2 separate regions of the Homo sapiens genome follow, and region 2 is linked to region 1. The links are contacts of gene promoters, found by promoter capture Hi-C in blood cells and fetal thymus (Javierre and others, 2016). All regions are on one chromosome and are shown on one strand. Each heading gives the region's core, a stretch centred on a gene start or on the middle of the fragment in contact. The rest is flanking DNA. Distances are from core to core; before and after follow the strand shown.

Region 1 (6,801 bases), core at 3,448-5,947:
AAATATCTTAGTATCAGGGATTTAATTTTAACATGTAAATTTTGGAGAGCACAAACATTCAATCCATAAAAAGTAGTAAATAAAATTGACACAAACCATTTCCTCACAGAGCTCACAGTCTAGTGGGTCAGACAGCAATCAACCAAACTATTATGACAGACACTCTTGGAAGTGCTGTGAAAGAAGAATACGAGGAGGAATAGATTTTTGAATGACTTGGTTTAACTAGTGTTGTGGGAGGAAGGTGGCATCAGAAGAGGCTTCCTTGAAGGAGTAATCTTAGGCTTGCAATGCATAAGTCTAATAGAAGTTCCTTTGGTAGGAGTCAGGAAGAAAAATGGAGACTTTCCCAGAGGCTAGCACAGTTTTTAAAAGGTCTAAACTTGATAGGGCCTAGAGTTCTTGACTACACTAAGTCTAGAGAGCTTGAACAGTACCACATGAGCCAGAACATGAAAAACCTTTTAACACCGTGTTAGGAATTATATGCTTCCAGCTGTATGTAACAGAAAGATTTTTAAAAAATGAAAGTGGCTTAATTTGTAAACATAATTATTGCTTACACAATAAGAAACCCAGATTATTAGTCTGTTTCCACACTGCTATAAAGAAATGCCCAAGACTAGGGAGCTTTGTTATTATGTAACAGAGATATTACAAAGGAACACATATGCAAGTATAATTTTATTATTTTTCAGAATAACTTATGCTTTTATTCTTTCCCTTTTGCAGCTATATAAATTACCTTTTTGAATGGAACCCCCGACCCAGGCCTTGGGGGTTCCTGCATTAGGATCATTCATGGATATTCATTAAGCCCATTTTTTTTCACATTGTCAGCTGAGAAATGGCCAAGACTTTTGAATTATTAGTTAGGATTTTTCAAGTGCCTTAGCACTGTTGTCTGTTCTAGCATGTGATTGAGTTCTAAAACACAGTTATTAGAAAACTCACAAAGGCATTTTTTAATTAGAAAAAAAGGAATTATGAGATAGATTTAATCTCACAGCATCATACTTGTTTATTCTTGATGGGAGCTCAGTAACAGACTGTTGCTTTGTAAAGTTATCAGTGCATTTAAAAAAATTTCCAAGCAAAGGGAATAAATTGGGTTATAGAAACTGGCAAAAATAAACCTGATTATCATTATGTCAGTCCTGGGCAATTGAAGAAATGGAGGTCAGGCATGGTGGCTCACGTCTGTAATACTAAACTTTTGGGAGGTTGAGGAGGGAGGATTGCTTGAGCCCAGGAGTTCGAGATCAGCCTGGGCAACACAGTAAGCCCCTATCTCTACAAAAAAAATTTAAAAAGTAGCCAGGCATGGTGGTGCGTGCCTGTAATCCCAGCTGTTCAGGAGGCTAAGGTGGGAGGATTGCTGGAGCCCAGGAGGTTGAGGCTGCAGTAAGCTGTGATTGCACCACTGCACTCCAGCCTGGGCAACAGAGCAAAACTTCGATTCAGGAAAAAGGAAAGGAAGGGAAGGGAGGGGAAGGGAAGGGAAGGGAAGGGAAGGGGGAAGGAAGGAAGGAAGGGAAGGAAAGAAAGGAAGGAAGGAAGAAATGGGGCACAATCAACACATTTCTAAGCCATCATTAAAACTGGTTACTAGAATAATTAAAATAGAAATTGAAACAAGGTGGCAAAAGAAGCACAAAGCCAAAACTGCAACTCCAAGGGAAAATTAAATATGGGATCATATAATAATCATTGGAAGAGCCTACCACACCAAGAAAACACCTATTTCTGTAAGTTATTTTTCTGCAGACAGGCCACCGTGGACTCTTGCAATGCAAATTGTATCCCATAATTATGAGCGTATGTTATATTCATGATTCATGAAAATCACATGGGAAGGAAAAAATCATTCCTCTCCTTTCAAAATAAGATGCTTAAGGCTTCCTTTTCTCTTATAGAGATGGCCTTGTTAATTGAATTCTGATACTCAAGTCTACCAACCAACACTTCCCTGACTTACAGTACAAAAGGCACTGAGAGTTTTGGTTTCTATAATAATTCTTTCCATGCTTCCATGACTTACCAAAATCTTGCTCCTTATTGGCACATTAGTTTTCCTTGATGTATTAACATATTTAATACAACTACAGTCAAGTTTTCTGAGATCCCTCTATAATACATTTTTAATGTTATTTTTTTCTCTTGATAATCTTTAAAAAGTTAAATCTATTTTGGGTTCTGTGAATGAATATCTTATAACTAAGTACTGACATTTGATTTTCATGCTTTTATCTGTGTTGTGTTTGCAACTGTTTTGGAAACAATCAGTATTACTTTAATTGTTATGAGCTAATGAGAAAAGGACAAAGTCAGGCTTAAAACAAAAAGATGTGTTGTAGGCAAGATAAAGCCAGAATACATCATGGTGGTTACACTCATGAAGAGTTCATAGTTATTTGAATAGAGAAAAAGAGTCTAGAAAAATGAATTGCCCTGTGGAATATAGCAGTATAGACGTGCTGAATTTCAAAGAATCAGTCCTGTAAGAGTAGCCAACACTATATTCCATAATCATTTTGCAAACAACAGTTTCCGTAAAAAATCCCACTATTATATTAAGATTGTTAATTTGAAGTTTTTATATTTAATTTGTAAATTTGTTTGGTTGTATATGTATATAATATTATCTTAGGTTTATACATTAAATACCATTACATAATGAAAGTAATTTATTCACCACTGGGATCAGATAATTTACTCCTTTACACATTGTCAATATTTTATTCAAGATTGAGGTTTCACATCAAACCTCACACTCATTGCTGGAGTTATGCCTTAAACAGAGTACTTGTGACAACAGTGTTACTGTTGAATGGCTGTGATAATTAGAAAGTTCAATTTGTATTGTTTGTTGAAATTACATTTCCTGTAAGTTCCAACCATTGGTGGCAGTTATTCTTAGGAACAAATCAAAGGTGCTCTTTTTGTTTAAACTTTAAGTTATAGGAGGATAACTATCATGTTTTTCTTTATTCTACCCAAATCCTTTTCTTGCCTCCATAAATATTTTTGAGAACTTATTTTGTGTAAAACATTCTGCATTAGCCATTTTTTTTCCTTTTCCAGGTTAAACAGCTCCACACCTTTCACCCTTTCTTGGAAATATTTTTTTTCTAATCCCTCAACATTCTAATTACGCCATTTTGCACATACTTTAGTGATGTCCGTCTTAAAATGCAGCACTTAGAAATAAAGACATAGGCTGGGCGAGGTGGCTCACGCCTGTAATCCCAGCACTTTGGGAGGCCGAGGAGGGCGGATCACGAGGTCAGGAAATCGAGACCATCCTGGCTAACACGGTGAAACCCTGACTCTACTAAAAAATACAAAAAATTAGCCGCGCGTGACGGCGGGCACCTGAAGTCCCAGCTACTTGGGGGGCTGAGGCAGGAGAATGGCATGAACCTGGGAGGTGAAGCTTGCAGTGAGCCGAGATCGCGCCACTGCACTCCAGCCTGGGCAACAGAGAGACGGGCACTCCAGCCTGGGCAACAGAGCGACTCTGTCTCAAAAAAAAAAAAAAAAAAAAAAAAAGAAATGACATAGCAGTTTGGGAGGCCAGGGCAGGCAGATCACTGGAGGTTAGGAGTTTGAGACCCGACTGGCCAACATGGTGAAACCCCATCTCTATTAAAAATACAAAAATTAGCCTGACTGGGTGGCGGGTGCCTGTAATCCCAGCTACTTGGGAGGCTGATGCAGGAGAATCGCTTGAACCCAGGAGATGGAGGTTGCAGTGAGCCGAGATGGTGCCAGCCTGGGCGACAATAGCAAAACTCCATCTCAAAAAAAAAAAAAAAAAAGAAATAAAGGCATAGAAAATGGAGACTTTCATTCAATATCATCATTAATAACCAGTAAGTAGGAAGTATTAAACTCAGCAATGCATTAGACAGCTAGCGGGGCAAGACACGGAAGTAAATGGCACACTGGTCTTACCTTCCAAGAGTTTTCAATCTAATTGGAAGGGAGTATTACAATTTTAGATTATAATAATTATAAAAACAAACATTATAGGAGCTCAGAGGGTTTAGAGATCTGTGTTCTGTAGTTATTACAGGAGGCCTCTAGATTCTAACTTGGGTTAGGGCTTGAAACTACATTGAATTTGAATATTCCCAGTTTAAACATGCACGCAAGTATTATGTCCAAAGTAGCATGAATACTGACAACACCAAACATGAAACCCAGATTTATTTATTCTCTATTTAGTCCTTTCCCTACTCTTTAGAGCAGAAAGAGAAAATCCTTGCTTGAGATAGCAAATTAGTGCTACACTTTTTGGGAAGGCCACTGGAATTTAAACCTGGCAAAATTCCAATTTTTGTGCTTGTAACCTGTTTAGCCGGCAGCCAGTGAAAGCTGTTATAATTCTTTTTGAATTGAATTTTCTTTCGTATTGTTTTAGGTACAGCTCAAGCTCAAATGATAGCGTCTCTTTTTCTTTAAAAAAAAAAAAAAGTGCTGTCAAGACAGGAAAACTGGAATGTAACCAGATTAGCCGTTTCCCGTATACATTTGCCCTTAAGCAAGATGGTGGGCGCCTTGTGCACATGCGCGGAAGGGTTGTTTCGGCGGGGAGTTCCGCCGCGTCGGAACTCGCTCCGGGCGTGGATTGGCGGCTTGCTGGCGGGGGCGGAACCGGAAGTTCCGTGTTGTGGGGCTCAGCTGGTTCATTTATGTTGTTTTTCCTGTACCTAAGTTCCCGCTGTAGGTGGTACCTTTGCAGACGGTGCGATGGGGGAAGCAGAGAAGTTTCACTACATCTATAGTTGTGACCTGGATATCAACGTCCAGCTTAAGATGTAAGAGAACACTCGGGACAGGGAGTGGGATTGCTGGGGCGTAGGGACGTGGGGGCAGGGGCCTGTTGGGAGTGAGAGGCAGAAAGTACGTGACTCGTCTCAAGGCCCAGATTGGGGGCGGCTGTGAGGGCTGTAGCCAGGGAGGCGCGAGAGAGTGGATCGTGGAGAGGGGCTCTTTTGGAAAAGGATTTAATACGTGGTCTCCGTGAGAAGCACAGCAGTAGGAATAGCCCTTAAGTTCCGCTGTATTTTACAGTCTTTAAAGTTTTTGCTGTTCAGCCTTTTGAGAGTTTATTACTATTTCATTGTAAATTAAGAAATCAAGTCTCGTCGTAAGTAAGAGGACGATCTTTATTTTGGAACGGGGCTTGTAGGGTGGAATGAAGGCTTCAGAAATTATGGAGAGGTAGACACAGGCAGATGCGATAGTTGAGAATAAGATGAGCACATGGTGTATTAGCACGGGAGGTGATAGAGGCCTAGAGTGAATCTTTGGGTAGTATGGCAGTGTTTAGTCAGGGAAGTTGGGAGTAAGTCGAAGATGAGGGTTCCAGTTTCAAAGGTACCAAGAAGATAGGAGAAAAGAGTCTTTGCAGGAAAACGTTGGGGCACCACGGCTGAAGTAAAGGTCAAGGGCGTGATATCTTGAGATGAGGATAATAGAACTGGTATAATGACGAGGGATGCACAAGACAGAGTTGGAAATTATGTCCCTTTTAAGGTGGTCATGTAGGAGTGTTGTCAAAGCTATCACAAATTATTGACCATAGCATCATCCATAATTAATAAACATTTCTTGTGTATGTTCAATTAATATTCAACAAATATGTGTCGGTCAAAGGCCTGCAGTAAGTGATAGATAAATTTTCTCAGTTGTCTGATGTACCTTTGAATGATCATTTCATTTTATTTTCAGAAGTCCCTTATTCGCTGACAAATACTTTACTTTTTAGTTTGTGGTGGTGGTGGTAAAAGTAATATGTCAACAACCACCTTGTACCTTTGTATGATACTTTATACACTCATTTAAGGTATTTTCCATAGCATACACCACTAGTAGTTTATACAGGATCAATATTGATAAAGGGCTTTCCTTCAGCTTGATGCTCAGTATTTCTTGGATATATGAATGCATTTTTTGAAATGTTTGAACATTAAAAATAAAGAAAAAGCCAAAAAAACCGGTCCCTTTTTTTTTTTTTTTTTTTTTTGGAGACAGGGTCTCACTCTGTCTCCTTTCCCTTTGGGATGACGTTCTGCTTCTTTTGCTTCAACTCTCATGCATTGTTCAGGATCATTTCAGACATCTATCTGGGGTACTAAGTCCCTTCCCCATGCCAGCCTAAGTACTCTTGAGACTCTGATTTATCTTACTGTAATGGGAAGAATATTGGCTTTGGCCTCCCTGCCCTAGTGTTTATTCTCAGCTCTGTTACTTACGTTGTGACTGTGGATAAGGAGTTTAGTTTATAAGTCTCTGTTTCCTCATTTATAAAATGAGAATATGGTGAAAATTATGTAAGAAAGAAAATATAAAATGCCTGGCACAGTATCTGATGTAATCTTGATGTCTAAAAAATGTTCCTCCCTCTGTGATAGTATCCTGTGCATATCTATTTATGACTTATACCACTGTTTTAAAGAAATGATCAGACAATGCATATGCATAGTAAAAGAAAAAAATGGAAAGAGTAGAATAAAAACATGCAGTTAAAAGTAAATTTTTTTCCCCAGAAGCAATGACTTAATATTTTATTGTAATACTGTATTGCTTATCTTTTCTTTCTTCTGGGCTTCTTTGTCCACTATGGTAAATGTTTCCTGAAAGAATAGATGAATATGTGGTCAACTTGAAATGAAGAAAATGAAACCAAGGCCTAGAAAGCTGGTGACTTCCAGAGGGTAGATCAAGGGTCAATGGCAGCGTTTAAAATTCAGAAGTATAAAATAGAGAAATGTGTTGATGAAGATGGGACTG
Region 2 (6,983 bases), core at 3,333-5,832, 35 kb after region 1:
ATTTAAATGTCTCTCAAGAAGATGATTTTGCCAAAAAAAAGATAATGAGAAACAATAAAATGAATGTCGTTTTAGGCCACTAAGTTTTAGGGTGGTTCGTTATGTAGTAATAGGTAAATAGGACAGGCATCTAGGAGACATTTTGAGTGGTAACTGTACAATTCTGTGGAAATCATAAAATTAGCTCAAAGAAATACACAGAATTTTTGCTGTCAATCTCAAAGTCAGGTACAGGAGACAGACATGCAAACAATTTCCATAGCATAAATGGTACCTTTAATTTTGCAATCGGTTTTGCACTCAACAATATCTTTCCTGTGAAGGCATACAGATTTTTCTCATTCTTTTTGATTATAGCATTTCATAGTGTGTGTGTACTCTAGTTTACTTAACAGTTCTCACTATTGATGAACATTTTCATTCTTTTGTGTCTAATTTTTCTGTATTGCAAATATGGTGCACAAATGTGAATTTCTCTAGTATAATTTAAACTTATTTTCATAGTGACTGTACCAGTTTTAGTACTGGCATGCTGTCCATACATTCTTTAGTAGCTCTTATACAATTGAGATAGGTCATATTTGGTATTCAAATAGGAAAGCTAATCATATGCTATATGGGAGATAATATATATTAGCAGCAAACATAAATTCTAGAGCTAGTGAAAATGGCTTTAGAACATTTCTAATTTGTCTGGATAGTTTTAGTAAAGGAGGAAAAAAGTTCCCACCACATTCTCCCACATCCAAACTTAATTTACCATTGCCAGTTCTTTGCTCATAGGAAATTAGCAGTGGATCAACTATTGTATCATAAATACAAAACTAATATTCGAGAAACGACAGAATTGAGTTTCACTTAAAGCTCTTAGTACATCAGTAGAGAGGATAGCAGACTGGTGGTAGGAGTATAGGCTTTAGAATCATATAGTCTGGGGTTTAAACCCTAGCTTGGCCACTTCATAGTAGTAGTTGATAGTCATCTGCAAACTGGGGTCAAAATAGTCTACAAAATAGTGTGGTTATAAAAAGTGCCTATAATTTGGCATGTAAATAAATGTTATTTTTTTCTCCATTCCTATAGGAAGTATATAAACTCTTATTACTAATTTTTACTGTTACTTCGTTCGTACAAGCAAAGGATGTAAAATGACCTTTTACATTTTCATTTATTTTGAAAACCAGTTTGGAGCATATTGCGAAGTGAGTAAGAATAGAGGCTTCCAATGACTGCATGAAATAATACCACCTGTTATATTTTGCATCTATTACTTTATTTGAGTTTTGGGAGTAAGAATAGATGTTAATACTTGAATTTTATTGATGTGGGTTCAGAAAGGACATAGTTTGAAAATGGAGTATTAAGGTTGGAACTCTGGTCTTCCAGCTCCTACTCTAGCACTCTTTTCTGTAGGTCACATTGTCTGATCTTCTTTTGGTTTCCTTGTGACTATTTCTAGGTCTCTTTCCATGTTGCTAGCATATTTGTCTATTATTCCACCAGAGCCACCACGATATTTAGTTCCTGCTTTTTGTAATCATGCTAAGCTTATTAATAACTTTTCATACATTTTCATATAGAAATTACCTCACATGAAAGGGAATTATTGGAAGAAAGCTAAATTGATATTACTTTTTTTTATTACAATGAACTTCAGACTTTTTGTGTGACATTAGTATTTTTATTTCTGAAATAGTATGACCACATAGTTGTGATGAGTTGAGGAAGAGAAAGAAGATTGATAGTGAAGATTTTTAATTCTGCAAGAGAGATGAAATTGGTGGCAGTGTTTGCTGTTCTTATAGGAAAGCTGTCATGATATGGACAATGAAGCAGAAGAAACTGATATAGATAAGCTACTATGTAAAGCTTTGATGTCCAGTTTTGCTTTATACTGTCAATTTGTTTAGAAGGAATGAGAGGGGTGTTGATTTTTAGTATTACAGTTTCTAATTCAAAACCTGGTTCTAATTTGAGGTCCTTGGAACTTACCAGGAATTCTCTATGGATTTGAAGAGTCAATGAATTATTAAAGTTATAAAACTAAGGTTAGATTGGTATGTAAGACCTCACAGGACTCTACCAACTGCTATTCTAGAAAATTGAAGTCTTTTATCACCGTTGCCTAAAATTAAAGCATACATGCATATGTGTGAGCTTAAACCTTAGAGTATTAATGTGCAAACCCAGAAAAATACCTTATTACCTGTAACTGTCATTTTTTCATGTTGGTTAGATACATTGAAAGATGGGAAGAAAAGAGAAAAAGTGGTTTATTTCCCATTCATGAAACTATTATTATAATTTCATCTCTTTGTAATAGTCAAAATACAAGAAATATAGGAACACGGAGATAATTTCAGGAACAACTTCATTATTCTTTATCATGTCAAAATATGGCAAATTATGGACCTTTTTAAAAAAAATTTAATTGTTTTTCTTTAAAAAATAATGATTTGTCTCTTGCCAAGTTTCTTATCCTGCTAATTGCGTATGGTTTCTATTGTGTATAGGAAAGTATCATATGTGAAGTGTACATTGCCATTCTGACATTTTTGGTCCTTCTTTCTACTAGATGTATATTAAAATTTTCGTCATTGTATTTATTCTGCAGCTCACCAAAGCTCATCGACAAGGACACATGGTGAAAGTAGATTGGCTGGATAGATTGACATTTAGAGAAATAGAAATGATAAATGAGGTGGGTTATATCACTCTTTTATTTTAAAATATTTTCTGTAAATTTTTAAATTAACAATTTTTTGATAAGAATTATTATTAGGTATCTTACAAATATAGGATTATCAGGGTTAACCCCTGTAGCTGGGAATTCTATGCTAATAACTGGAAAATTGGAGATATCAGCCTTCCCTATATTTTAACGTAATGTCAAACTATGAAGTAGGTAGTGGATATTCAAAGATGTTCTAAATATCATATGAGTGAAGCCTATGCAGACTTAATGCCTCAGTGGTGTGTTCTCTGTCATATCAGCTCATGTTCAAGTCAGCGTTGGATAAATCTTCCATCAGCACAGTGCCAGCTTTTCACTTCAGTTACCATAAATCATTTCAGCAAGTTCTCTCTTCAATTAATTTATTACTTGTCTATGTACTACATATAGGACTCCGCACCCTCTATAAAGTTACATGATTTAGGTGATTTTTTTCTTGACCTTGTATGTGAGCCAGTGTGTATGTTTAAATAAAGATGGCTTCAATGAGAGTCCTGCCAAAAGTTGTAACAAGAATAGTTTACTTTTTTGTATATTTGCTCTAAAATGCCAGATGTTAGGCCTAATGTTCCACATCTAGAGAACAGAAACAATAATTATATTAATCAAATTAGGAGAGAAGGACATCAATTTGTGATTTGTCTAATTTATAATGACCATAAGGCACAACTTACTTAATTTATATTCTCCAAATAATTTTCAGCAGGTAGAAAGAGAGAAGTTTTTAATTTTACAGTGAACTATTACAAAAGTTAGATTTTAGCATTATTCTTTTATTTTAAAATAAAGGTAGTGATGTTTAACAACATTTATATTCAATTCTCGTATTTGGTACCTTTTCTAAATTTATTCATAATACATTCCTATATACATAAACTGGAAGGAAGCCTTTTTAATTTTTATAATAGTCACATTTCAAAAAGAGTTTACTCATAATACTAACTTATATTTTTCTCTTCTTAAACTTAGATATCACTGGGTATAGAAAACGTAATGTTAGAGTTTGCCCAGCCTTTTTCATATTTTTACATTTTAATTTCTTTGAAAGAAATTACCATTACCACCGCATTACTATTACAAAATAGACTATAATATGCTTCATAAAGCTGAAGAATTTAAGTAACCTCTTCAGACCTTTATCATTTATTATTTCTTTTTTTTGTTTGTTTTTTTTGGGGGACAAGGTCTTGCTGTGTCACCCAGGCTGGAGTACACTGGTATGCTTAGTGCAGCCACAAACTTCTGGACTCAGGCAGTCCTCCTGATTAGCTTCCCAAGTTGCTAGGACTACAGGCCTGGCTAATATTTTTAAAATTTTTTGTAGAGTCAGGGTCTGGCTATATTGCCCAGGATAGTCTCAGACTCCTGGCTTCAAGCAGTCCTCCCACCTCCCAACGTGCTAGGATTACAAGTGTGAGCCACCATGCCTGGTGATTTTATGTTTTAGATGTAAAGCCATTTATAAAGGTGTTTTGGGTCAAGGCTAATCACCCGCTTAGACTTCATTGTATTTTCACTTTATCATCACCTTAGTATAGTCATGTGCCTCATCATATCATTTCAGTCAACTGCAGATCACATGTACAATGATGGTTCCGTAAGATTATAGTACTTTATTTTTACTGTACTTTTTCTCTTTTAGGTATGTTTAGATACACAGATACCTAACTATTGTGTTACAGTTGCCCACAGTATTCAGTACAGTAACCTGAAGTAACAAGTTTGTAGCCTAGGGGTAATATGCTACACCATATAACCTCGGTGTGCTATAGGCTATACCATCTAGATTTGTGTGTTTACATTTCATGATGTTTACACGACTAAATTGCTTAATGATGCATTTCTCAGAATGTACACCTGTCGTTAAGTGACATGTGACCATGTTTGCTTTTTTATTTTAAAGGGGACACAATTATATAAATAACTTTTTTTTATGTTGGAACAAGAAGTAATTATTCCGCAGTATATTTAAAGTGTGGATAAAAATTTACAAATGACAAATCATTTTAAGACCATTTATAAATTGCGAAAAACTTGTAAAGGCTATACTTGGTAAACTCAAATGGCCTCTGTTCTTAGGTTGCACACTTTTCTTCCTTTTGATTTTTGTTACACATATTGATTTCTATGGTTTAGTCATATAAGTTAAGGGTGAACTTAGCTTAAAATTGTTAGAAGGAAAAACCATTCTTTTTATTTTTGAAATAAAATAGTTCTCATGAACATGTGTGCAAAATACCTTCAAGATTATAAACCCAAACTACTGAATAAACCAAAAATGTTAAATTTGAGAAAGCAGTTATAAGTGCATAGTAGACACTACTGAATAAACAGTAGTGCTGTCTATAATAAAATAATAGTGCTGTGTAAAACACACTACATGTATATAATAAAATAAAAATGTGTTATGTTTTGACTTGTATTTGATAGATACATGTATTACTGAATTAGGAAAAATGATACATACTGATCCTTTAAGAGAATGTTGAAAATAATCATTTTTCATGAAAATCATTTTTTTTTTCAGAGTGAAAAACGAAGTTCTAATTTCATGTACCTGATGGTTGAATTTCGATGTGTCAAGTGTGATGATAAGGAATATGGTATTGTTTATTATGAAAAGGTATTTCCCTTGGAACTGTTTTTGGTCTCTAAAGTAGAGGGGAGAGGAAACATTAAAAAAATATTGTTGTTCCTGCTGGGATGAATTATTTGGTTGCAGGGTAGCAGCAGACAGCTGTCAGCAGCAGCTGTTTATGTATACAGAAATCAAATCATATAACTACAACAAGATTACAAAAGCCTATCACTCATGTAATGCAGTTCTGGGTTACAGAATTCAATAAGTATGCAAGTGATTAAAAACTTTGTGATTAATTGTTCTGCAAATTGGCAAGTAGGACACTAAGTAATGGCTTCATTTACTAATATTATTTATTTAAAAAATGAAAGGGGGAAATTATATTTCTAAGTGGTAGGCTATTTATTGAAAGTTAAGAGTCTGTTTGTTATTTGAGTGTATGTGTAATGTCTATATGTGGCCCTCACTGAAGTATACTTATGAAATACTTCAGAAATGTCCATTTGTACAATAGATGCAAAATTAAGACAATTTTACCATCAGGCTGGGTAATAACAAATATGCAGTTATAGATTTGCTTTGTTCTGCCCATTATGCTACAGAAAGTAGTTCTGTGTTTATTATGTACCTACTTGAAAGTATCTTCCTTAAATGCTTGTAGAAGGTGCTTCATTTAAGTACTACAGAAATAATTATATATTTAAGTACTACAGAAAATAATTGTATGCAGGCCAGGTGTGGTGGCTCATGCCTGTAATTCCAGCACTGTGGTTGGCTGCGTGGGAAGATTACTTGAGCCCAGGAGTTTGAGACCCGCCTGGGCAACATGGCGAGACTCCATCTTTATTTAAAATAAATATAAAAAAAAATGTATGCATAGTTTGAAACCACATAAAGTATCTTCTATTATTGTGTTAATAGTCAACAAATGTTAAATCAGCATAAATGATGACAGACTTTTGATACATGGCATAGTAGTAGATTAATATTTCTTCTAGCATATGACCAAGCTGATATGCAGTGTATTTGTTCATTAGAAGCAGTCCTTTTAAATTAAATTTACATTTTATTGTTGTTTATTAAAGCTGTCACAAGTGATTTTTAAAATATGTATACTTTTATAAATTACTATTTGAAAGGTTTTCATAATGAAGGTTTGAGTTTTTACAGTTTATTTATGATCTTTTTTCAAGTTACTGTTCATATTTTTGTCTTTAACTCATATCCCTTTCACGTTAGTGAAAGACTAGGAAGTGTTAACTTGTTTCTGCCTTTTATTTTATAAATGGTACTCCTTGGATAGATTATTTAACATTGTTTATTAATTTATTAGAAAAAATACATCAAAACAAGGGAAATGTGAGTGAAACTGTTCTGTCACCAGTGCATTTTAATAAAATCATATTTTACATTTTAAACTATATGTCATTTCATTAAAGGCAGTATTTTCTGCCCATATAGAGTTTGTATTGCAAAAACATGCTAATGGAGATGGTACTTTCAAACACTGGAGATGTGAAGGATCCTTTGAAAGACAGCTTGATAGCAGATGAAATAATAACAGAATAGAAATTAGAAGAATTTCAAGTATTTTTGAAAAGGTTCTTGACCCCTTTCTACCACTTCCTGAAAATTGCTCATAAATTAATGCCTGTCTACCCACCCTGT

Evidence for each region. The method cuts DNA at HindIII sites, captures the fragments that hold promoters and counts their contacts. A CHiCAGO score of 5 or more calls a contact.
Region 2: a contact is called between a fragment that was not itself captured here and the fragment with the promoter of PIK3C3 in region 1, in 1 of 17 cell types (monocytes). The highest score is 6.6, in monocytes.

Annotation. Positions count from the first base shown.
Region 1 is chr18:41,950,537-41,957,337 of GRCh38, forward strand. It overlaps PIK3C3 (phosphatidylinositol 3-kinase catalytic subunit type 3), which reads left to right and starts at 4,698. Exons shown (of 25, transcript NM_002647.4): 1 at 4,698-4,823. The coding sequence starts at 4,756. RefSeq lists an enhancer at 4,476-4,655. The HindIII fragment of the contact is 3,603 bases long and covers 3,435-6,801 here.
Region 2 is chr18:41,985,198-41,992,180 of GRCh38, forward strand. It overlaps PIK3C3 (phosphatidylinositol 3-kinase catalytic subunit type 3), which reads left to right. Exons shown (of 25, transcript NM_002647.4): 5 at 2,615-2,701; 6 at 5,262-5,357. Among named protein-coding and RNA genes, the nearest start is that of PIK3C3, 33 kb to the left of the region's middle. The HindIII fragment of the contact is 5,430 bases long and covers 1,868-6,983 here.